Linked DNA regions of Homo sapiens: regions 1, 2, 3, 4, 6 and 7 are each linked to region 5. The links are contacts of gene promoters, found by promoter capture Hi-C in blood cells and fetal thymus (Javierre and others, 2016). All regions are on one chromosome and are shown on one strand. The core of a region is centred on a gene start or on the middle of the fragment in contact, and the rest is flanking DNA. Distances in the headings are between cores, read along the strand shown.

Region 1 (3,308 bases), core at 67-2,566, 1.2 Mb before region 5:
TTTTAAATTCTTTTTTTAATTTATTTGAGCTAAAATTATATACTTTATTTGCAGAACTGCTGGCTTTTAAAAAATATCCTGAAGATGGTATTGATCTTGCTAATTGATGTTTTGTGCACACACCTGCACATGTGTGGGGGAGCAGAGCATACTATTTCGTCTTAAATGGTATAAAATCTCAACCAATAATGTGATTCAACAATTACCATTTCTTTTTAACTCGAATCCTAAGACAAATTATATATATATATATTTTAAACTCTAATAACAGTTACCATTAATTGCTGTAACTCAATTAGATAGGATATTTTGAAGGTGGAATGTATTAGTCTACACATACCACTGATTTGATTTCTCTTCCAGCCATTGGATTTAATGTAGAGACGGTGACGTACAAAAACCTTAAATTCCAAGTCTGGGATTTAGGAGGACAGACAAGTATCAGGTATGGTACAAAGACCAGGTTATTTGGTAGTATTTGACATTTATTGATTCTTTTAAGGGTTAAAATCAGTAAACCCGAATATGTGTTCTATTGTAATTTAAATGGAGCCACCTAGTTTAAAATGAGGTAAAATTGGGAACTATTTCCTTAGAGCATCCATTGAGTTAAAACTTAAGGAAGCCCAGTTTTCCAGATACCTGTTTAATGAAAATCTTTTCACGAAAATCTCAAGACCTTATTACTTCAGCTATTCTCAATTAGAAAGGACCCTCCATTTAGTTCTTGTCAGTCTCTCCTCTCTGAAACACATTGTTTTGGAATTCATTAAAGTACCTTGCAGGCATACCATTTAGGGCTAATATAAAAATAAATGCCATTGGCCGGGCATGGTAGCTCACGCCTGTAATCCCAGCACTTTGGGAGGCCGAGGTGGGCGGATCATCAGGTCAGGAGTTGGAGACCAGCCTGACCAACATGGTGAAACCTCGTCTCTACTAAAAATACAAAAATTAGCTGGGCATGGTGGTGCGTGCCTATAATTCCAGCTACCTGGGAGGCTGAGGCAGGAGAATTGCTTGTACCAGGACTTGGGAGCTGGAGGTTGCAGTGAGCTGAGATCGCGCAACTGCACTCCAGCCTGGGCTACAGAGCAAGACTCTGTCTCAAAAAAAATAAATGAATAAATAAAAAATAAATGCCTTCTGAAGTTCAGGTCTTCTGCTTAGCATTTTGGGCTTGACATGGCAACAGTGAATGTTTGATGACCGTCAGTAGTTGGTCACGATAGTACCATCTTAAAAGATTAGTAATGCATTCTCCAAACATTCTGACTTCTTTTAACTCATTTCTTGAATCACGTTTCTTTTTTTTTAAATTGTGCAGCCTCCCAAGCCAGAGTAGGCTCAGAGAGACTCCATTGAATCACTTTTGAGTTTATTTATAATTTTAGCCATTTCTACTGCTTGATGTCAGTGATTAATTTCATGACTGTTAAATAAAATCACGTTTAAAAAGTTTATTCCTCTTAAGGGGTGCCTAGTTAAAGATTTGTTTAAGAAGATGTAATGATCAGGTCTGTGTACAACTTTTCTATCAGTATATTTAGTGATTTCATAGATTATAAATAAATTTTGTCAGCCTGAAGTCTGAATGAATTCATTTGGAAACTCCCTGGTCCTGTGAGTCAATGTTTATCAACATTCTTTTTTTTTTTTTTTTTTTTTTTTTTGAGACAGAGTTTCACTCTTGTTGCCCAGGCTGGAGTGCAATGGCACCATCTCAGCTCACTGGAACCTCTGCCTTCCTGGTTGAAGTGATTTTCCTGCCTCAGCCTCCCGAGTAGCTGGGATTACAGGCACCTGCCACCATGTCCAGCTAATTTTGTATTTTTAGTAGAGATGGGGTTTCTCCATGTTGGTCAGGCTGGTCTCGAACTCCCGACCTCAGTTGATCTGCCCTCCTCAGCCTCCTAAAATGCTGGGATTACAGATGTGAGCCACCGTGCCCAGCCAATGTTTATCAACATTCTTTTGACTCCATCACATCTGAGGGATATGGTACATATATCCACCAGAAACAGTGAATCATTAAGGCATTGATTCTAACATGTGTGGGACAGAATTGGCAATTGATATGTCAGTTTCTTCCTTAAAACAATAACAATATGTTCTCCCCTTTTAAATTTTCTCTAGGCCATACTGGAGATGTTACTATTCAAACACAGATGCAGTCATTTATGTAGTAGACAGTTGTGACCGAGACCGAATTGGCATTTCCAAATCAGAGTTAGTTGCCATGTTGGAGGTAAGAAAACGTAACCACTTTAAAATGTGGGGCAGTCATTTACATATTATTACATTGAAGAATAATTAAAAAGAATGCAGGGGTTGTTCCCTCCATCCTTTTAAAATTATTTTCTTTTATGGAAATGATTTTCTATTCCAAAAATACAGTTGAGGAGGGTTGGAGACAAAACAACAACAAAAATTAACCTCGTAACTTCCTCTTCAAGCCAGATTGCTTGATTTTCCAGGAGGTTCAGAAGAGCTCACTTAAACAAAAGCATCTATTCTAAGTCACTTCTTTGATGTGACTTTTAAAATATGTCTTTTTATTTTTAGCTGTTTTAGAAGGATTCAAGTTCAGAGAAATATGTATTTCTGGGTTACTGGCACAATGCTGGCCTCACGTTTATCGTTTTTTATCCTTCCCAGTGTTTACAGTGCTTTTGACCTTCTTTCTGTTCTTTGGACACGAGCTTGCACACCTGGCTCAGGGCCTTTTGCACTTGCTGATCCGTCTGCTTGGAATACTATTCTCCAGCATCTTTGCATGGCTGCCTTCCTGACGTGTTTCTTCCCACATCTCTTCCCCAGAAAGAAGTCTTATTTATTCTCTAATCCTTTACCCTTCTTTATTCTTTATACCGATATTGTTTCTTTTTTTTCTTTTTCTTTTTCTTTTTTTTTTCTTTTTTTTTGTAGAGACGGGGTCTACCTATGGTGCCCAGGCTGGTCCCAAACTCCTGTCCTCAAGTGATCCTCCTGCCTCGGCCTCCTAGTGTTGGGATTACAGGTGTGAGCCATTGCACCCCACTTACTGTTTTTTTACATTATTTTTAAATGTATTTGTTGGCTGGGCGTGGTGGCTCACGCCTGTAATCCCAGCACTTTGGGAGGCCGAGGCGGGCAGGTCACCAGAGATCATCAGGAGTTTGAGACCAGCCTGTCCAACATGGTGAAACCTCATCTCTACTGAAAATACAAGAAAATTAACCGGGCATGGTGGTGTGTGCCTGTAGTCCCAGCTACTTGGGAGGCTAAGGCAGGAGAGTCACTTGAACCCAGGAGGCAGAGGTTGCAGT
Region 2 (3,303 bases), core at 3-2,502, 1.6 Mb after region 5:
TGGCTCACGCCTGTAATCCCAGCACTTTGGGAGGCTGAGGCAGGCGGAACATGAGGTCAAGAGATCGAGACCATTCTGGCCAACATGGTGAAACCCCATCTCTACTAAAAATACAAAAATTAGCTGGGTGTGTTGGCACACGCCTGTAGTCCCAGCTACTCGGGAGGCTGAGGCAAGAGAATCACTTGAACTCGGGAGGCAGAGGTTGCAGTAAGCCAAAATCGTGCCACTGCACTCCAGCCTGGTGACAGAGTGAGACTCCATCTCAAAAAAAACAAAAAGAAAGAAAAATCAATCATCTTCTTTAATGTTAAATGAATTAATATTTATCAAGTACTTAGAATAGTGTCTGGCACAAATAAGGGAAAAATAAAATATATTTTAACGCAGCACAGCACATATCACTTCATTTTTTTCATCACTAGTGCTGAGTCAGCTTTGTACTTTTTTCTTATATGCACCGTTCACATGTAGCAAGGATGAATTTTTTTTTATTTTAGTAAGAGGCTAATCAAAAAAAACTACTAATTATCAGAGATGATATTTCCACTAACATGACACAGGTTGTGTTTAAAGCTTGAATTTGAAAAGAAGTTCTGAGAAAGTTCATTAATGTATTTTTTGTAATGAATCAACCTTCATACGAAAGTCTCTTATAATAATGATTTCATTCTGAATAAACTCGCTAATCTATAGTATAGATCTATGGTGGAGTATTGGATAATAAAACTAGTCCCTGAAATGAACTGTGTTTCTTCTTTTACTTTTTTTTTTTCCCCCCTGGCAGGGAGGGACAGGAAGGCGTGAGGAGGGCAACTCTTATTTCTTTAGGGTGGTCTCTTTCTTAATAAGGTCTCTATCTGCTGGTCTTAGATATCCAATACTCTGGGGGAAAAAAAAAAAATCCTAAAAGCCAGAAATGAAACAGCCAATGAAAAAAGAATTATGTTCACCCTTCCATCTCAGAGAATTAGGATAATAGTGTTTTCTAATAACCAGAAGCTTTAAAGGTTCCTATTAATTTAAACACAGGAGAAAAGTCAATCTGTGCTAATAATGTAACCTGGGATCCCGTATAATAGAAATTAGCCAGCATCATCAAAAGAAATGTATTTCCTCCAGTATTGTAAACATTTGTCTAATTTAGCTTTGGACAGTTTTGTAGCTACGGTTAGCCTAATGATGCCATTTATGAATTCAAAGCATTACCACTTTTGCAAGGATGCACAAAGTTCAGATAACTGCATTTACTCAGAAAAGTCTTTCACCTCTCCATTAATCCTTGGGATCTTTAAATGATTGCCTTTCAGTGGAAATGAATTTCACAAAACATGGTCAGTCAGTATGGTTCTAAGTTTGGCTGTGCACTTAGATTACCTGAGAAGCTGTTGAGTTTCCAACATCCAAGCCACATCCCAAGCCAATTAAATCAGAATCTTTGTGAGACCCAGGCATCAGATTTGTTAAAGCTGCCAGGTTATTACAATATGTAGCAAAGCTTTTGAACCACTTGTCTCAGGACTGTGTTTAGGCAGGTACTTATGGTTCTGCTCCATTGCGTTTTGATGACTCAATATGCAAAGAATTTCAAGTGTTTTTTTCTGAGCCTAAAGAATTGAGTTAAAGTAGACAAAATGGTATTGGATCCAAGACAATTCTTTTATGCTTGCTCATTTCAAATCCTGTATAAACAGATGTTGATTTGTTGTTTTGAAGATTGAGATAGCTTTTTGGGCTTCCACCCATAATGAAGAATAAACTCCAATTTTAGAGTGACATCTCAAGTACACCTATACGAGTCACATCACTGAGTATAACCAATTGTGCAGTTTATACACTCTGCACTGATTGTGATCTATTGTCACTTTGGCAATGGCTTTTTTCTATTTTCATACCTCTTTTCACACCTCCTGCTATTTTGCAACTTCTAATTACTATCACTTCTCTCTTCTACTCCACTGCTTTTTATCAGTCAACTCTTCTACATTTCAGTTTTAAAATACTTTTTATAGACGACTCTTGTTTCGCCTACATTTCAGCATAAAAACACCTATTTTCTAGATATTACCCAATCATGGCCTTGTGAAAAACAGTAGAGATCAAAGATCTTGTTCTAAATTTTTCACTTTGTCCTCCTCTAAAATATTTCTTGTGCATGCATCTATTACAGATATCACACCATCTTATTTGGTGGGCTGTGAATTGTGAACAAGGGCAGTGCTTTACTCATCTTTGCATGAGTTAAACCAGTACCTACCACATGAAAATCTGTCAAAAGAAACTGATAAAAGCTGCATCTAGGCTGGACATGTTGACCCACACTTGTAATCCCAGCGCTTTGGGAGGCTGAGGGGAGGATCACTTGAGGCCAGGAATTCAAGACCACCTTGGGGCTGGGCACAGTGGCTCATGCCTGTAATCCTAGCACTTTGGGAGGCCAAGGCGGGCAGATCACTGGTCAGGAGTTCAAAACCAGCCTAGCCAACATGGTGAAACCCCATCTCTACTAAAAATATTAAAAAATTGGTGGGGCGTGGTGGCAGGTGCCTTTAATCCCAGCTACTTGGGAGGCTGAGGAGGAGAATCGCTTGAACCCAGGAGGCAAAGGTTGCAGTGAACCGAGATCGTGCCATTGCACTCCAGCCTGGGCAACAAGAGCAAAACTCCATCTAAAAAAAAAAAAAAATACCGGGCGTGGTGGCTCACGCCTGTAATCCCAGCACTTTGGGAGGCCAAGGCAGGTGGATCACAAGGTCAGGAGATCGAGAGCATCCTGGCTAACACAGTGAAACCCCGTCTTTACTAAAAATACAAAAAATTAGCCAGGCGTGGTGGCAGGCGCCTGTAGTCGTAGCTACTCGGGAGGCTGAGGCAGGAGAATAGCGTGAACCCAGGAGGCGGAGCTTGCAGTGAGCCTAGATCGCGCCACTGCACTCCAGCCTGGGCGACAGAGTGAGACTCCATCTCAAAAAAAAAAAAAAAAAGGCTAAAGACCACCTTTGGCAACATAGCGAGATGGACAGTCCTAGCTATTTGGGAGGTTGAAGTAAGAGGATCACTTGAGCCCAGGAGTTCAAGGCTGCAGTGAGCTATGATTGTGACACTGCATTCCAGCCTGGGTGACAGAGTGAGACCCTGTGTGAAAAAAAAAAAAAAAAAACCTACAGCTACCCATACCAGAATTTATGTTGTTCTTAACAGAAGTGGGTATAATTCTCCTTTGAAATTCGGATTTAAATGGATATGAATTGGAGAATAGTGATTTTTCTTTTCTTTTCCAGGTTTGTATTTCAGCAGTCAGAA
Region 3 (3,089 bases), core at 368-2,867, 1.1 Mb before region 5:
CTTTCCAAATGAGGTAGAACTGTTTGAAATATGTATGCTTATGTCGTAGGTAGGAAAAAGCAGAATTGTCTTCTACCTGAATGTGCTTCATGTTCTCAAAGAAGTCCATTTCTGGGTCATGGTAATGAGTAAGTTGTACCAAGTCTTTGAATTCCAGTTGGTTTGGAAAGGTTTGAATTAAACAGGAAAGTATTGTGGTATAATCCTGCTGAATACTCTGTAAATATGAAGTGGAGAAAAAACATTTTATTTTAAAAAGAATTTGTTTCTAATATGAGGAAACAGAAAAAAACATAAAATTTTAAAAAGTAAAATATTTCCACTGTTAAAAAAAAAAGTCAGGATTGCTTGAGCCCAGGAGTTTGAGGACAGCCTGGACAACATGGTGAAATCCTGTCTCTACAAAAAATACAAAAATCAGCCAGGTGTGGTGGTGTACTCCAGCCTAGGCAACAAAGTGAGCCCCTGTCTCAAAAACAAAAAACAAAAAAAACCTGACAGCTATATTAGATCCAAAGTGACTGGTGGCCAGGCATGGTGCTCATACCTGTAATCCCAGCAATTTGGGAGGCCAAGGCAGGTGGATCACTTGAGGTCAGGAGTTCGGGACCAGCTTGGCCAACATGGTGAAACCCCGTCTCTACTAAAAATACAAAAATTAGCTGGGCGTGGTGGCATGTGCCTGTAATCCCGGCTACTCTGGAGGCTGAGGCAGGAGAATCACTTGAACCCGGGAGGCGGAGGTTGCAGTGAGCCAAGATCACGCCACTGTAGTCCAGCCTGGGCAACAGAGCGAGACTCCGTCTCAAAAAAAAAAAAAAAAAAAAAAAAAAAAAGCAAAAAAAAGTGCTCTCCTTTCTAGACCCACTCCCATTAAAAGTCTGGTGACTATTTACTCAACCAAGTATTCTCATTAAATGCACTAAGCCTGACTACTTTTCTATACAACAGTAGCAAACGTGGGAAAACAAAACAAAACACAGCCTCAGACAGTAGTGCCTAAAACACAAAGTTATATACCTCTGTCTGGCTCTTCAGACCTTTTCTCAATTTCTCCAGGAGTGAACGGTGGATGATTTCTCTATAGTCTTTCTCTGTGACATTCAAGGCAGCTAGCTTTTTGATGATACTCATCAGGCACATGCTGGCATTATCACTTAAACTCATATCTCCTAACTGCAAAAAAGAGAAATAAAAAAGAAATTATTCTCTGTAATAACTACAATATGGAATATTACTTCCCAGTGCAAGCATCTACAAAATTCTGTCACTGTGCTTGTAAAAATGCCTACTAAACAAGTTCCCACAAATATTTCAAACCTAAGGGAGAACCAAATGTTCTGTGAGGAATATAATACTGTAAAAGGCTGAAAAACCACGCTTCCCAAGAAGTGTCATTTAATTTCAGGCAGCACTATGAAATGTCCTTGTTAATTAGTTTTACTTCCCAAAGCAGGCAGTCTAAAAGGTTCACTAAAGCCAGTTTTCAATATTCAGTATCCGGTCATTACTGAAAATGACAGAATTGGCTGCTCCAGAGTTTGTGGTTTGAAGAATGTCAAAGTGAGTGTAGGGAAGGTATCCTTGACTCAGCCAGCCAGGCAGCGACTTAGAATTTTTTGTGCTGAATTTTGGCATGATTATGAAGAATGAGTATAAAACAGGGAGATTATTTTTTCATATATTACGTAATCCTTAATATTAGATGAATAACTATAAAATGCCACAAAGAGATCACTGATGCCACTACATGATTAACAATAATCAAAGGTTTCATTTTCTGCATTTTTGGATTTTAATTTAGTTCAGCAACATAGCACTTAATATATTCCAAACACTTTTTAATTCTCTTATAACTTCAATAAAAAAGGGATAATTTTCAATTAGTATAGTTGCATGTTTAAAAATTGACATAATTGACACACCATAAAATTCACCCTTTTAAAAAACTTACTATTTGGCTGGGTGCGGTGGCCCACACCTATAATCCCAGCACTTTGGGAGGCCAAGATGGGCGGATCGCCTGAGGTCAGAAGTTCGAGACTAGCCTGGCCAACATGGTGAAACCTCGTCTCTAATAAAATGCAAAAATTAGGTGGGTGTGGTGGCGTGCCCCTGTAATCCCAGCTACTATTCGGGAGGCTGAGGTGGGAGAATTGGTTGAACCTGGCAGCAGAGGCTGCAGTGAACCAAGATCACATCACTGCACTCTAGCCTGGGTGACAGAACGAGATCCTGTCTCCAAAAAAAAAATTTACAATTCAGTGGTTTTAAGTATATTCACGAGGTTGTGTGATCATCACCACTAATTCCAGAACATTTTCATCACTCCCAAAAGAAACCCTATACCCATTAGAAATCACGCCCCATTCCTCCCTTTCTGCAGCCTTTAGTGACCTAATGTACTTCATCTCTATGGATTTCCCTATTCTAATACATAACTTCTTGATTTTTTTCAAAATGCTTTCATATGTATTATTTTATTCACAATATTTGCCTTTTAAATCATGAGAATAACTGTTTTGCCAGACATAAGATTCTTCATCTAAAAGAAATTTAATCCTAAAAACCTTTGTCCCCCCTCAAAAAACAAATTTAAAGATCAGGTCACTGTATTAGGCAGCCGTATTACCAAAACAATAAAAAATAATTTAAAAATTTTGCTATAATAACCTACCTCTAGATTATAGAAACAATTATGCATAACTGGAATTAGGTAGTTAACATCCACAATTTGCATTTCTTTAATGTAAGAGGTGATGGTCTGGAAAGTCTCAAAGCGAACGTCGAAGTTGATATCATCAAGATGTCTTTGATCGAAGGCGTTAAGCTATAAGAAATGCCATTGAAGTTATATAAAAGAAGGCATATAAATCTTCAGTAAACAAAAATGATAATACTTTTGAAGCCAAAGAGAAACCCTTCTTTCTTACCTTGACAACATCAGTAATATATTTTAACCCACTCTCAAAATCAGAAAGAGTCTGAAAGGAAAGAAAACAGTGTATTTATCAGTGAATAAAACTTTAACTTTTCTGCCCTCCTCCCCTCAGCTACCTGTCCCCATTCAAATTCATATAAAAACATCA
Region 4 (3,265 bases), core at 386-2,885, 1.5 Mb before region 5:
ATCTACTAAAAACACAAAAGTGAGTCGGCCGTGGTGGCACGCGCCTGTAATCCCAGCTACTTGGAAGGCTGAGGCAGAAGAATCGCTTGAACCCTGAAGGCGGAGGTTGCAGTGAGCCGAGATCGAGCCACGGCACGGCACTCCAGCCTGGGTGACAGAGTAAACCCCTGTCTCAAAAACAACAACAAAATGGATGCATGCATGGAGGGCATGAAATATTTCCACTGTATTTCTGTTAATCCAACCTCAACCTCCATGAGTCCTCCACAAGGCCTACACTCAAATGATTATAAAGGGACTTCACTATTTGGAGCAGAGAATAGAAAGTAATGTCACAGAATGTGCAATGTAATATTTATCCCACGTAGTATAAACTATAGATGGGAGTGAACTCCACTCTGCCCCCTATCCCTCCACACTCAGCCCAAAGGGTGCTTCTGATGAACAGCTATCCAAAGCCTATATTTACTCCTTATTTTGTACAAAGGTCAAATGTAATTATTGCTAATAAAATGTTGGGGTTTTTTTAATCCCTAGGTTGTGATGACAAAAAAATTATTGCCTTGATAACATTCCAGTTTGTTTTTCTTGAAAAAGTCGATGAAGCAAAGAGGAAGTTACCTCTTAACTCATCTTTGATCAGTGCTACCGGTCATTTCAAGATCACTAGCTCAACCTTCCAGAAACGAACGGTTACGAAAGTATTCAAAGGGCGTCTCGGGCTTGGCACAAGTCCCTGTGCCAGGCAGGACGGAGATGGGGGTGTTCAGTCCCCAGTGTGCAAAGCACCCGACCGCGGGTCCGTCTCACAGGTTGGCGCCGCATGGGATAGCGGCTGGGCAGGCGCCCTCCGGCCCGTCCGCGGCCGTGGGGAGGATCTGCGCGGACATAGGACCTGGGGCAGTGACCTTAACAGCCCCTCCGCTGCCCAGGGGAGGCTTGGGATGGTCACGGGATTGGGATAGTGGCGTGACAGTCTCCAGGCGGCCCAGGGCGGACACCGCCCGGGGCAGTGGCCAGTCCGCCCCTCCGGGGCCCGGGAGAGGCTCAGCCGCGCGTGGGTCCGCCCTTCCCCCGGCGCCTCCAGCGACCCGCCCGCAGCGCATCTGGGGCCCGGCTCGGGCGATCGGCCAGCCCTACCTCTTCGGTGGCCGTGGGACAGTAGGAGATGAGCACGAGCGTGGTGACCACGTTGACGGCGAGCCCCAGCAGGGTGATGGAGTTGGGGGCCATCCAGAGCGGGATCCACTGGAGCAGCCAGGTCCAGTAGAGCTGCAGCGGCGGCTCGAGCAGCGAGACGCCCGCCGCGCTGTAGCGGTGCTCCTCCAGTCGCCGCAGCTGCGCCGCGCTCAGCGGCTCGCTCAGCGCCCTCAGCCAGCGCGGCGCGGACCCGGCCCCGGCGCCTGCCGCCATGGCCGCCTGAGGGCCCCGCCGCCGCCACCGAGCGCAGCCCGCGCCTGGCGCTGGGGGCAGGGAGAGGTGGAGGGAGAGGCTGGCGGCCGGGTCCTGCGACTGCCGGGCTGGACTCACCGGTCGGGCCCGCACGGCGGAGGTCGAGGTCAGGCCGGCCTGCCCGGCTGCCGGGGCCCCAGCCCCAGAAGCTGTGGGGCCGCGGCTGCGGCTCGCGGGTGGGGCGGGGCCTCGGGGAGGGGTCCGGCTGGGGGCGGGGCGGAGGGGGTCCTGCTAGGGGCGGGGAGGCGGGTGCCGCGCTCGCGGGTCACCCTCGGCGCCCGCCAACGGCAACTTGTTATCGGCGATCAAGGTCCTTGACTCCCCAGGGGCCGGCTGCACTGCGCCTGAGGTCTGATGTCTTAACCCACGGCGTCGGATTACGCCCTGAGGTCGTCTCCTCGCGGGCTGCACCACGACCGAGCCGGTTCCTCTCCTAGGGGTCGGAACACGACTCCGGTCGCCCAGTGTTAGCCACTGCAGGACCACGCTGCCCGCAGAGCCTGGGGGTTTTCGTGTGAGAACACAGTTTTGCAGGGCTCGGGTCACGGGGGTGACGGCCCCATCTGTCCTGCTTGGTAAAACACACAAGCACAATTCTCCCTTTCTGTACGGAGGAAGGCGGCCCTGCCATGTATTCGCTCTAGAGACCCATCACTGCGGATTCAGAGACCAAGGTTTTGAAACTGAAAATCAGGGCTTAGAAACACTAACAAGGAGACCGAATGGCTGAAACCCCGATACCTATTTTCTTCAGCGCATTTGATACCAACAAGGGTGAATATTTTTACACATACTCTTCCCTGGAATAAAGGGCAGGAGTGTCCTCCCCCTGCAAGGGGGAACAGGCTGGCTTGCCACACGCATTGGTAGGTCACCGGCCCCTTATCTCACAGTGCACTCACTTGGACAGGGGACATCTGTCATAAACACGTTCTGTTGCACAACCTGAGACAGGCCTGTCACTTGCTTTGCTCTTCACTTCATGGCTCTGATCTGCACGCACTTTCTAAGGCCTAGGACAAGCCAGAAATTGCTTCCAAGACACTTGTGTGGCGCAACCTCTATCGGCAAGTGCAGTTTGCCTCACGGGCTTCGTCAAACACTTGGCACAGGGGTCCACGAACTGCTGCCTGTGTGCCAGACCCAGCCCACCACCTGTTTTCCTACAGCCCTCCAGCTAAGTATGGTTTTGACATTTTTAAATGATTGGAAAAAATCAAAAGAATACAATTTTGTGTTGTGAAATTATATGAAATTCAAAGTTCAGTGCCACGAATAAAGCCATGTTTATTCCTTACCTATTGTTTGGCTGCCTTCATGCTACAAGGGCAGCAGAATTCAGTTGTGACAGACCGTATGGCTGGCAAAGCCTGGACTATGTCCTACTAGGCCCTTTAAGGAAAAAACTGGCAACCACTGCCTTAGAGCAATGAGGGTCTCTACAGACCAAGCGTATATGTCTTAGGAATATGGATCTCCTCATCTTTAGTGTGAAAAACGATGCTGACAAATGCAGGAAAGGAAATGGAATGATGGAGATCCACTTTTAACAATGCTGGTTTATGTGCAGTGAACTTGACAGTAACTACTTTTTAATTTACCGATGCCATGAACAGTCCAAGGAAAAAATCCTTTTCTAGATTAGCCGATTTCACTGTATTAAAGATAATTTTTAATGTACATCAAAAGACGTCATCAAGAGAATGAAAAGACAAGCCATAAACTGGGAAAAGGTATTTCCCTCAAAACCCACAATGAGTAGAACCCAGATTATGTAAAGAACTCCTAAAAATCAATCAGAATAAAAAATAAT
Region 5 (2,925 bases), core at 139-2,638:
TCCCAGCACTTTAGGAGGCTGAAGCAGGCAGATCACGAGGTCAGGAATTCCAGACCAGCATGGCCAAAATGGTGAAACCCCCGTCTCTACTAAAAATACAAAACTTAGCCAGGCGTGGTGGTGCGCAACTGTAGTCCCAGCTACTTGGGAGGCTGAGGCATGAGAATGGCTTGAACCCGGGAGGCAGAGGTTGCAGCGAGCCGAGATCGTGCCACTGCACTCCAGCCTGGACAAGAGAGCCAGACTCCCTCTCCAAAAAAAAAAAAAAAAATTGCTTTGTCAGCTGGGTGTAGGGCTCACGCCCCTAATACCAGCACTTTGGGAGGCCAACGCGGGTAGACTGCTTGAGGCCAGGGGCTCGAGACCGGCCTGGCCAACATGATGAAACCCCGTCTCTAACAAAAATACAAAAAATTCGCTGGGAGTGGTGGTGCACGCCTATAATCCCAGCTACTCTGGAGGCTGAGGCGGGAGAATCACTTGAATTCAGGCTGCAGTGAGCTGAGATCGCACCACGGCACTCCAGCCTCGGTGACAATGATAATGATACACATTGCCAAAACGTTTTCCAGAAAGATTGTAACAATTTACATTCCTACTCAGTTTGATTTCCCTCTTTCATTTCTGTTTCAAAAGAAATGAAAAAGAAGGAAAGGAGGGAGGAAGGAAAGAATTTTTTTTAATGCTCTGTTAATTTGATAAAGGAAAGGCGTGTCTTTAGGTTTGCTTATTTATTCAAACATATATTTTATGACTATACATGTTATGAATGCCATTGTATTAACAGTACTTCTGTTTAATTGACCTTACCAACTAGGTCGGCCAGTAGGCCAAAGTCTTCAAAGCCTCTAGATCCTAAGACCGTGATTTTTAGACTTTTGGAGGGTCATAGAACCCTTTGAGAATCTAATGAAACCTATAATCTTGTACCCAGGAAAATCCGCATACACCCAAACACCGTGCCCATAGTTTCCAAAGGCTGATGAACTTTACGGACCCTTCTGTCAGGAACGCATCTCTATAAGCCTATTTTCTTTGGCTATTTCCTGTTACGAAATAAAACATATATCCCACTTCCGGGGCCTCGCAGCCCAAAACTAAAACCAAAATCAATTTCAATTCAAAGCATCACAATCACCCACCCAGCTCCAACCAGGGAATCCCTCTGGCTAAGTCAGGGCCGCGCGGGGGTGTCTGCAGTTCATTGATGTCCGGAGATGAAACGTAGCACATGAAACCACTAGGCGTATATATCTTGTCCCTCGGAGAAAGAAAGTACTTACGACACATTTTCATGGCTGTAACCGATTTTGGCGTTGTAAGCTCCATTATCCAGCACTAAGGTCGTCATCTCACCACCAACCACACCGCAGCCGTAGTTGTTTTCCCTTTCCGACCCCTCTGCTCGAGCTTTTTCCGGTACTCTATGGTTTGTTGGGCGGAGCGTTAGGACGCGCCTCTGGTCACCTTAGCAACGGAGGACGCCGGAAGTCGGAGATGCTAAGCAGCACCGAATGTTAGGGGCTGTGCTTCCAAACTTAACCTGTTTATGTGGTGGCGAGATTTGACTACTATGTGCTTTCTCGCTCATTTCGTATTTGTTTTTAACTACGCAGATTAATTCGCGCAAGTTTTTTCTAATCCTGTAGAGAACCGGCTGCGTGTGTGTGTGTGTGTGTGTGTGTGTGTGTGTCTTCCAATCGCATTCTTCAGACGGTGACATTCTTTGAAGAAAAAAGTGCAAAACTTGCTCTTGGACTCACATTCATACTCTCCTCTTCCCCAGCCCACTTGCTCTTCAGGACGAAGCTGAGTGAGTCTTTCTCATCCAAAAAAGGCTTTTGGGCCGGACGCGGTGGCTCACGCCTGTAATCCCAGCACTTTAGGAGACCAAGGCAAGCAGATCACTTGAGGTCAGGAGCTTGAGACCAGCCTGACCAACACGGCGAAACCCCGTCTCTATTAAAAATACAAAAAGTAGCCGGGCGAGGTGGCGGGCGCCTGTAATCCCAAGTACTCGGGAGGCTGAGGCGGGAGAATTGCTTGAACCGGGGAGGCGGAGGTTGCAGTGAGCCGAGATGGCTCCACTACACTCCAGCCTGGGCGACAGAGCGAGACTCCGGCAGGGCGGGGACTTGGCAGGTGCGGGAGGCAGGACCTGGCTTCCGGGGCGTCGCGGGGGCAACGGCCAGCGGGCGGGGGCAAGGGCCAGCGGGCTAGGACAACTGCCAACGGGCTTGGAGGGGGGCGTTCTACAAATTCCAGGCCACTTTGAGCGCCTGAGAGAGGAGCGGGGCGGCGGGAAGGGGGCACCGCGGGGGCAGGGAGCGCAGCAGCCGCAGCGCGAAGGCGCGGGGGCCGGGGAACAAACGGTTGGCGCGCAGGCAGCCATACCGGGGCCGGAACCCGGGCAGAGGAGGGCAGCGACGGCGATGGGGAGGCTGCAGAGCCCGGGGCGGGTACCGCGCGGGAACCAGCGCGACTGCGTGGCTACCGCAGCCGTCGGTTCGTGTTGGACGGGCGCCGCTGCTGCCTCTGCTACTTCAAGAACCCCCACGACCCGCTGCCCCTCGGCCACCTGGACATAGCAGAAGCCTGCTTCAGCTACCAGCGCGCCGACGAGGCGGCGGAGCAGCCTGCGCACTTCCAGGTGCGCAGCGCGGGAGCCGCCACGGTGCTTGAGGTGGGAACTCGCGCCCTGCAAGCGCCTGGGCCCTTCTGTCGGCGCTCCTTGCCTCCCCTGGGGGCCTGCCCCATCCACCCTCCTTTCTCCAAGGCCTCCTCGCACCCTGCCAACGTCGGCCTGCCTTTCCCCACTTCTCCACATCCCGTCCTCGTTCCTATCTCCTCCCCTCCACCTGGGCTTAGGCCCGGGTGGCTGGGGCTACCCAGCCCAGTCTCCTTCCTCAGACACTTTGACCCATT
Region 6 (3,193 bases), core at 627-3,126, 1.7 Mb after region 5:
CCCAGGTGATCTGGATGCAGCATTGAGGCAAGCAACAGAAAGCAGACGCACTATCATCCTCATATTCTTATTCCAAGCATCTAAACATTTCTAAAAAGACTGATACAGGAATAGCCCCCTGATAAATGTTTTGTCAAATCTGGGGAAGGAAAAAGTAATTTATTTTTGAAAATCCATTTCTTATTAGAAATAACAGGCCTATCAAATCTAAGTAAAAACCAATTCTCGGCAGTGGCTCATGTCTGTAATTCTAGCACTTTGGGAGGCCGAGGAGGGAGGATCTCCCGTTGAGGTCAGGAGTTTGAGACCAGCCTGGCCAACACGGTGAAACCCCATCTCTACTAAAAATACAAAAATTAGCCAGGTGTGATGGCACACGCCTATAGTCCTAGCTACTCGGCAGGCTGAGGCTGGAGAATCACTTGAATTGGGGAGGCGGAGATTGCAGCGAGCCAAGATTGCGCCACTGCACTCCAGCCTGGGTGATAAGGCCAGACTTCGCCTAAAGAAAAAAAAGAAAGAAAGAAAATCAATTATATTTCCTTCAAACATAATGAAAAACATCAGCTGAACAAAGATATCTTAAATAAGTGACCAACAAATCTACATAAGGTAAGTCAGATAAATTAAAACCAAAAACGTGATTTTTTTTTTTTTGAGATGGAGTCTCACTCTGTTGCCCAGGCTAGAGTGCAGTGGCATGCCCTCCATCTCCCAGGTTCAAGAGATTCTCCTGCCTCAGCCTCCCAAGCAGCTGAAATTACAAGCGCGCAACACCATACCCGACTAACTAATTTTTGTATTTTTAGAAGAGACAGGATTTCACCATGTTGGCCAGGCTGGTCTCGAATTCCTGACCTCAGGTGATCCACCTGCCTCGGCCTCCCAAAGTGCTGGGATTACAGGTGTGAGCCACTGCACACAGTCAAACATGTGGTTTTTAATCTGTCAGGAAAAAAGTTCCAGAAAAGTGATGTCATTTTATAAATCTCAGATTTAATAAGGATAAAAAATTAGGAGACAGTGTGCTGTACATGATTAGCAGTTTCAGTCAGGAAAAAGGAAGCATCAGTTGCATTAAATTCTGCCTCCAGAAAGCTTTGTTCCTTTAAGTAGATCACTTAAGAGTTTCACTCAAAAATAGTACCTACTATGCTACCCGATGATCTCTAACGTATTTTTCAACTTCAAAACCCAACAGCTCTATGATATCACCGATGAGCTTCTCTAATTCCTTTAATCTCTACCTCTAGTATAAAGATGTTGAACCATAACAATATATTCTAGTGGGCACTTATTATGTATTACGTACTGAGTTGTGTTCCAAGTGTCTTTGCATTAACTTACAGAGTCCTAAAAATCTATGGAATAAAATGCTAATATCCCCATCTGACAACTCAGAAAACTGAGGTTCAAGCATGCTCTTCACTAACTCAGGAAATCTGCATGCTATGATATACATGTCACTTTCACTTATCTACCTTATTCGTTTCCCAAAATTATATTTTAGTAACATTGCACTATATTGCCCTGACATTAAAGACAAAAATTCAGAAATCATTTAATGGCTATTAATTACTAAGCACTAGACACTTCACATATGCAATGGCATGTACTCCTCAATCTGATTAAGTAGCTATTAGGTTATTCCTCTATTTCAGGTGAAAATAGAGGATCTTAGATTAAGACACTGTTCAGTGTCATATGAATAAGTGGCAGACCTGGAATTTGAATCTATAACTCTATTATTCACAAGTCTGTAAACTTAACACCTTATTATACAGTGGTGGTAAATTTGTGATTTAATTAACATTTCCTATTGGTAGCATGCTTTTATGTTCTTTTCCAGGTCTTCAAATATTTCCTATTGAGAATTCATAATTTGGCCAGGAGCAGCAGCTCACACCTACAATCCCAACGCTTTGGGAGGCCTAAGCAGGAGGATCCCTTGAGGCCAGGAATTCAAGACCAGCCTGGTCAACATAGTGAGACTATCTCTATAAAAATTTTAAAAATCAGCTAGGCATGGTGGCACACACCTGTAGTCCCAGCTATTCCAGAGGCTTGAGCCCAGGAGTTTGAGGCTGCAGTGAGCTATGATCATACCACTGCACTACAGTCTGAGGGACAGAGCGAGACCCTATCTCTTAAAAAAACAAACAAACACACAGACAGGCGTGGTGGCTCACGCCTGTAATCCCAGTACTTTAGGAGGCTAAGGGGGGCAGATCACAAAGTCAGGAAGGAGTTTGAGACCGGCCTGACCAACATGGTGAAACTGTCTCTACTAAAAATAAAAAAATTAGCTGGGCATGGTGGTGCACGCTTGTAATCCCAGCTCCTCAGGAGGCTGAGGCAGGAGAATCACTTGAACCCGGGAGGTGGAGGTTGCAGTGAGCCGAGATCGCGCCACTGCACTCCAGCCTGGATGACAGCGCAAGACTCCTTCTCAAACACACACTCATAATTCACCAGAACAGATCATTCAAGAATATTATGCTCCACTAGATCCAAATAGCTACACCTTCAGGCTCTGCCTCTTAAAACAAAAAGGCAGACTGCCAACTCTGTAAATGTTTATTTTTGTGTCCACAATCTAGGTAGTTTCAACACCTAAAAATATTGGTAGCAAGATACATAAAATAAAAAGCTTAGAAATAAGAAAACAAAATAAAAACAAAACTTTTAACATGCAAAGTTTTGTCACATTATACCAAGTGAATCCAAGAGACTATGGTAGAAGCTGAAATGAAACAATTTCTTATTTAATTAAAAATGTTCCCCATAGGCTGGGCACGGTGGCTCACGTCTGTAATCCCAGCACTCTGGGAGGCTGAGGCGGGAGGATCAGAAGATCAGGAGATCCAGACCATCCTGGCTAACACAGTGAAACTCCGTCTCTACTAAAAATACAAAAAAATTAGCCGGGGGTGGTGGCAGGTGCCACCACGTAGCCCCAGCTAATCGGGAGGCTGAGGCAGGAGAATGGCGTGAACCCAGGAGGCAGAGCTTGCAGTGAGTGGAGATCACGCCACTGCAGTCCAGCCTGGGTGACAGAGCGACACTCCGTCTCAAAAAAAAAAAAAAAAAAAAAAAAATTCCTCATAAACCCATGATTAAATAGAAGGTATATGCATGCAAATAGTTAATCTTGGCCAAATCCACATTAATGCTTGATTTGTCTTAAAATGTT
Region 7 (2,864 bases), core at 34-2,533, 1.2 Mb before region 5:
GAAACAAAGGAGCTATGATCATTGGGAGATACGGCTTTACCTTGTCTATCCCAAGATCCATTGCTACGGCGCCGAGGAACTTAAAGATGCATGTTCTCTGAAAGTACAGATCATTTTTTTCATTTGAAAGACTTCTCTTTAGCACTCAATCATAGACACAGCATTAATTGAGAAAACAGGGCTCAGTCTATTTTGGGACGGATGTTATTGCTGCAGTTTGGGGTTCAAAGATAAAGTTTCTAGGGACTTAGGAGGATCACTAATATCATTAAAATACTTTTTAAAGAGAAATGACTACTGTCAGTCATTCTGTGCATTCATCGCACCTTTAAGGGGTTTCTCGGCGAATAAGCAGCTTCCAGTTTTGCAATCCGGGACAGCTTCTGGATCAACCACAGCAGCGTGGCCGGCCTGCCGAGCTCTTCCTTCACCTCTTCCTTCTCTTCTCCGTCAGACTCCGCCTTCTCATCTGCACAGGCCACACCATCTTCTAAAGCTTCTTGTTCTTCCAGGTCTTCTTTTATCTTACTTTGCTTATCCTCACAATAAAGTTCCAGTAAATACAAGACTTTGGCTGCGAACAACAAATTCTTAACAACCTTTAAAAAAAAACGGGGTGGGGGAAGAAATTGGACATTGATTTTGAAATAAATAAGGCTTAGTAGAGCATAAGCTAAAATAGGTATTCTACAATTAGAAAACAAAAACAAACTAGGTATTACAACTATTTAACAACTATTAAATGATGAAGGCTCCATTTTTAGATATTCCTTTTTTTTTTTTTTTTAAAGACAGAGCCTCACTCTGTTACCCAGGCTGAGGGCAGTGGTGCAATCTCGGCTCACTGTGACATCCCCCTCCCAGGTTTAAATGATTCTCATGCCTCAGCCTCCTGAGAAGCTGGGATTACAGGCGTGCACCACCATGCCTGGCTAATTTTTATACTTTTAGTAGAGACGGGGTTTCGCCATGTTGGCCAGGCTGGTCTCAAACTCCTGACCTCAGGTGATCTGCCTGCTTCAGCTTCCCAAAGTGATGCGATTACAGGTGTGAGCCACCGTGCCTGGCCTAGATCATTCTTAAGTTCTTCCTCATAGGGCATCCAAACCCATTTCCATGTAACTTTGATCTATCTGGACTAGTTCTACCCTTTAAAGTCACACAGAATAAGGAAACAATTTCCTTCTAGGCCCTCCATTTACATTTTTTGTTTTGTTTTGTTTTGTTTTTTGGGTATTTTTTGAGACAGAGTCTCACTTTGTTACCCAGGCTGGAGTGCAGTGGTGCGATCTCGGCTCAGTGAAACCTCTGCCTCTGGGTTCAAGCAATTCTTATGCCTCAGCCACCCCAGCAACTGGGACTACAGGCTACCGTGCTCAGCTAATTTTTGTATTTTTAGTAGAGACAGGGTTTCGCCATGTTGGCCAGGCTGGTCTTGAACTCCTGGCCTCGAGAGATCTGCTCATCTCGGCCTCCTGAAGTGCTGATGTTACAGGTGAGAGTCACCACACCAGCCCCATTTTACATTTTTAACAACAGCTTTCATCTCTACCTCCATTAAATTCCTTCCGCCATTCTACATAGAAATAACTATTTCTCTCTCTTTTTTTTTTTTTTTTTTGATACAGAGTCTAGCTCTGTTGCCCAGGCTGGAGTGCAGTGTGGTGATTTTGGCTTAGTGCAACCTCTGCCTCCCCAGTTCAAGTGAGTCTCTTGCCTCAGCCTCCTGTGTAGCTGGGACTACAGGCATGCGCCACCATGCCCAGCTAATTTTTGTCTTTTTAGTAGAGATGAAGTTTCACCATATTGGCCAAGATGGTCTTGAACTCCTGGCCTCAAGTGATGCACCTGCCTCGGCCTCCCAAAGTGCTGGGATTATAGGCGTGAGTCACCGCACCCAGACCCTTATTGGGAATTTTAAATGGAGCAAAGAGTAATCCCAATACAGACCCAGTGTTGACAAGACATATGTGTATTTGAACATATATTTGAGTGTATGTCTGTATTTCATCTAATCCCCCAAGCATTAAGATAGGTTCAAAACAAAACAAAATAACAAATGTAAGCTTAGACTGTTGATAGAATAGGCCCCTTCTTTATTTCTGAGACGGAGTCTCGCTCTGTCACCTAGGATGGAGTGCAGTGGCGTGATTTCGGCTTACTGCATCCTCCGCCTCCCACGTTCAAGCAATTCTCCCTGCCTCAGCCTCCCAAGTAGCTCGGATTACAGGCACCCGCAACCATGCCCTGCTAATTTTTTTGTATTTTTAGTAGAGATGGGGTTTCGCCATGTTGGCCAGGCTCATCTCGAACTCCTGACCTCGGGGTGATCTGGCCGCCTCGGCCTCTCAAAGTGCTGGGATTACAGGCGCGAGCCACCATGCCCAGCCGGCCCCTTCTTTTAAACTGGGAGAACTACAATTCTTACCTGTTCTCCTAGAGACTGATCCAAGAATTTGGAATGCAATTGATGGCAAGAGGCGAGAGAGATACTTTTCATCTGTGAAAAGAAAATGGACATTGGTAGACAAAACACAGGACATTTCTGATTGTTTTTAAAAAGCTAAACATAATAACTGTAATACAACTAACGTACTGGATTTTGCTCTGAATGACCACCTGTATAGATTTGGAGAGGAAAGGTTCATGACCAGAAGTGGTGTACTGCTCCCTTCTACCTGCCCTAAGCATTTCATCCCAAATAAATGGGATACTTTCACATTTTGGGGAGAAACAGGTAATAATACTCTACATTTTTTTTTTTTTTTTTTTTTTTAAGACAGAGTCTCACTCTGTGGCCCGGGCTGGACTGCACTGGAGTGATCTCGGCTCACTGCAACCTCTGCTTCCTGGGGTCAAGCAAT

The links. The method cuts DNA at HindIII sites, captures the fragments that hold promoters and counts their contacts. A CHiCAGO score of 5 or more calls a contact.
Region 1: a fragment that was not itself captured here is called in contact with the fragment with the promoter of ACTR6 in region 5 in 2 of 17 cell types (naive CD8 T cells and activated CD4 T cells); the score reaches 6.5 in naive CD8 T cells.
Region 2: a contact is called between a fragment that was not itself captured here and the fragment with the promoter of ACTR6 in region 5, in 1 of 17 cell types (total B cells). The highest score is 5.9, in total B cells.
Region 3: a fragment that was not itself captured here is called in contact with the fragment with the promoter of ACTR6 in region 5 in 2 of 17 cell types (total CD4 T cells and naive CD4 T cells); the score reaches 7.4 in total CD4 T cells.
Region 4: the fragment with the promoter of CHPT1 here is called in contact with the fragment with the promoter of ACTR6 in region 5 in 1 of 17 cell types (neutrophils); the score reaches 6.7 in neutrophils.
Region 6: a fragment that was not itself captured here is called in contact with the fragment with the promoter of ACTR6 in region 5 in 1 of 17 cell types (naive CD8 T cells); the score reaches 6.0 in naive CD8 T cells.
Region 7: a contact is called between a fragment that was not itself captured here and the fragment with the promoter of ACTR6 in region 5, in 3 of 17 cell types (naive CD8 T cells, total CD4 T cells and naive CD4 T cells). The highest score is 9.1, in naive CD8 T cells.

The regions. Positions count from the first base shown.
Region 1 is chr12:101,400,002-101,403,309 of GRCh38, reverse strand. It overlaps ARL1 (ARF like GTPase 1), which reads left to right. Exons shown (of 6, transcript NM_001177.6): 3 at 364-445; 4 at 2,137-2,248. Among named protein-coding and RNA genes, the nearest start is that of ARL1, 6.1 kb to the left of the region's middle. The HindIII fragment of the contact is 9,104 bases long and covers 1-3,308 here.
Region 2 is chr12:98,634,392-98,637,694 of GRCh38, reverse strand. IKBIP (IKBKB interacting protein) reads left to right here. Exons shown (of 3, transcript NM_153687.4): 2 at 3,282-3,303. Among named protein-coding and RNA genes, the nearest start is that of IKBIP, 8.7 kb to the left of the region's middle. RefSeq lists an enhancer at 225-394 and a silencer at 1,422-1,481. The HindIII fragment of the contact is 496 bases long and covers 1,005-1,500 here.
Region 3 is chr12:101,342,682-101,345,770 of GRCh38, reverse strand. It overlaps UTP20 (UTP20 small subunit processome component), which reads right to left. Exons shown (of 62, transcript NM_014503.3): 34 at 2,934-2,984; 35 at 2,678-2,830; 36 at 1,021-1,176; 37 at 77-217. Among named protein-coding and RNA genes, the nearest start is that of ARL1, 64 kb to the left of the region's middle. The HindIII fragment of the contact is 3,290 bases long and covers 1-3,089 here.
Region 4 is chr12:101,696,010-101,699,274 of GRCh38, reverse strand. It overlaps CHPT1 (choline phosphotransferase 1), which reads right to left and starts at 1,635. Exons shown (of 9, transcript NM_020244.3): 1 at 1,141-1,635. The coding sequence starts at 1,413. RefSeq lists silencers at 902-1,091, 1,352-1,691 and an enhancer at 1,912-2,161. The HindIII fragment of the contact is 18,657 bases long and covers 1-3,265 here.
Region 5 is chr12:100,199,278-100,202,202 of GRCh38, reverse strand. It overlaps ACTR6 (actin related protein 6), which reads right to left and starts at 1,388. Exons shown (of 11, transcript NM_022496.5): 1 at 1,284-1,388. The coding sequence starts at 1,351. RefSeq lists enhancers at 1-280, 1,125-1,324, 1,298-1,592 and a silencer at 2,085-2,444. The HindIII fragment of the contact is 11,223 bases long and covers 1-2,925 here.
Region 6 is chr12:98,521,006-98,524,198 of GRCh38, reverse strand. The region is part of intron 1 of TMPO (thymopoietin); the gene reads right to left. Among named protein-coding and RNA genes, the nearest start is that of TMPO-AS1, 6.4 kb to the right of the region's middle. The HindIII fragment of the contact is 1,552 bases long and covers 1,101-2,652 here.
Region 7 is chr12:101,380,776-101,383,639 of GRCh38, reverse strand. It overlaps UTP20 (UTP20 small subunit processome component), which reads right to left. Exons shown (of 62, transcript NM_014503.3): 58 at 2,429-2,500; 59 at 327-599; 60 at 1-97. Among named protein-coding and RNA genes, the nearest start is that of ARL1, 26 kb to the left of the region's middle. The HindIII fragment of the contact is 1,570 bases long and covers 499-2,068 here.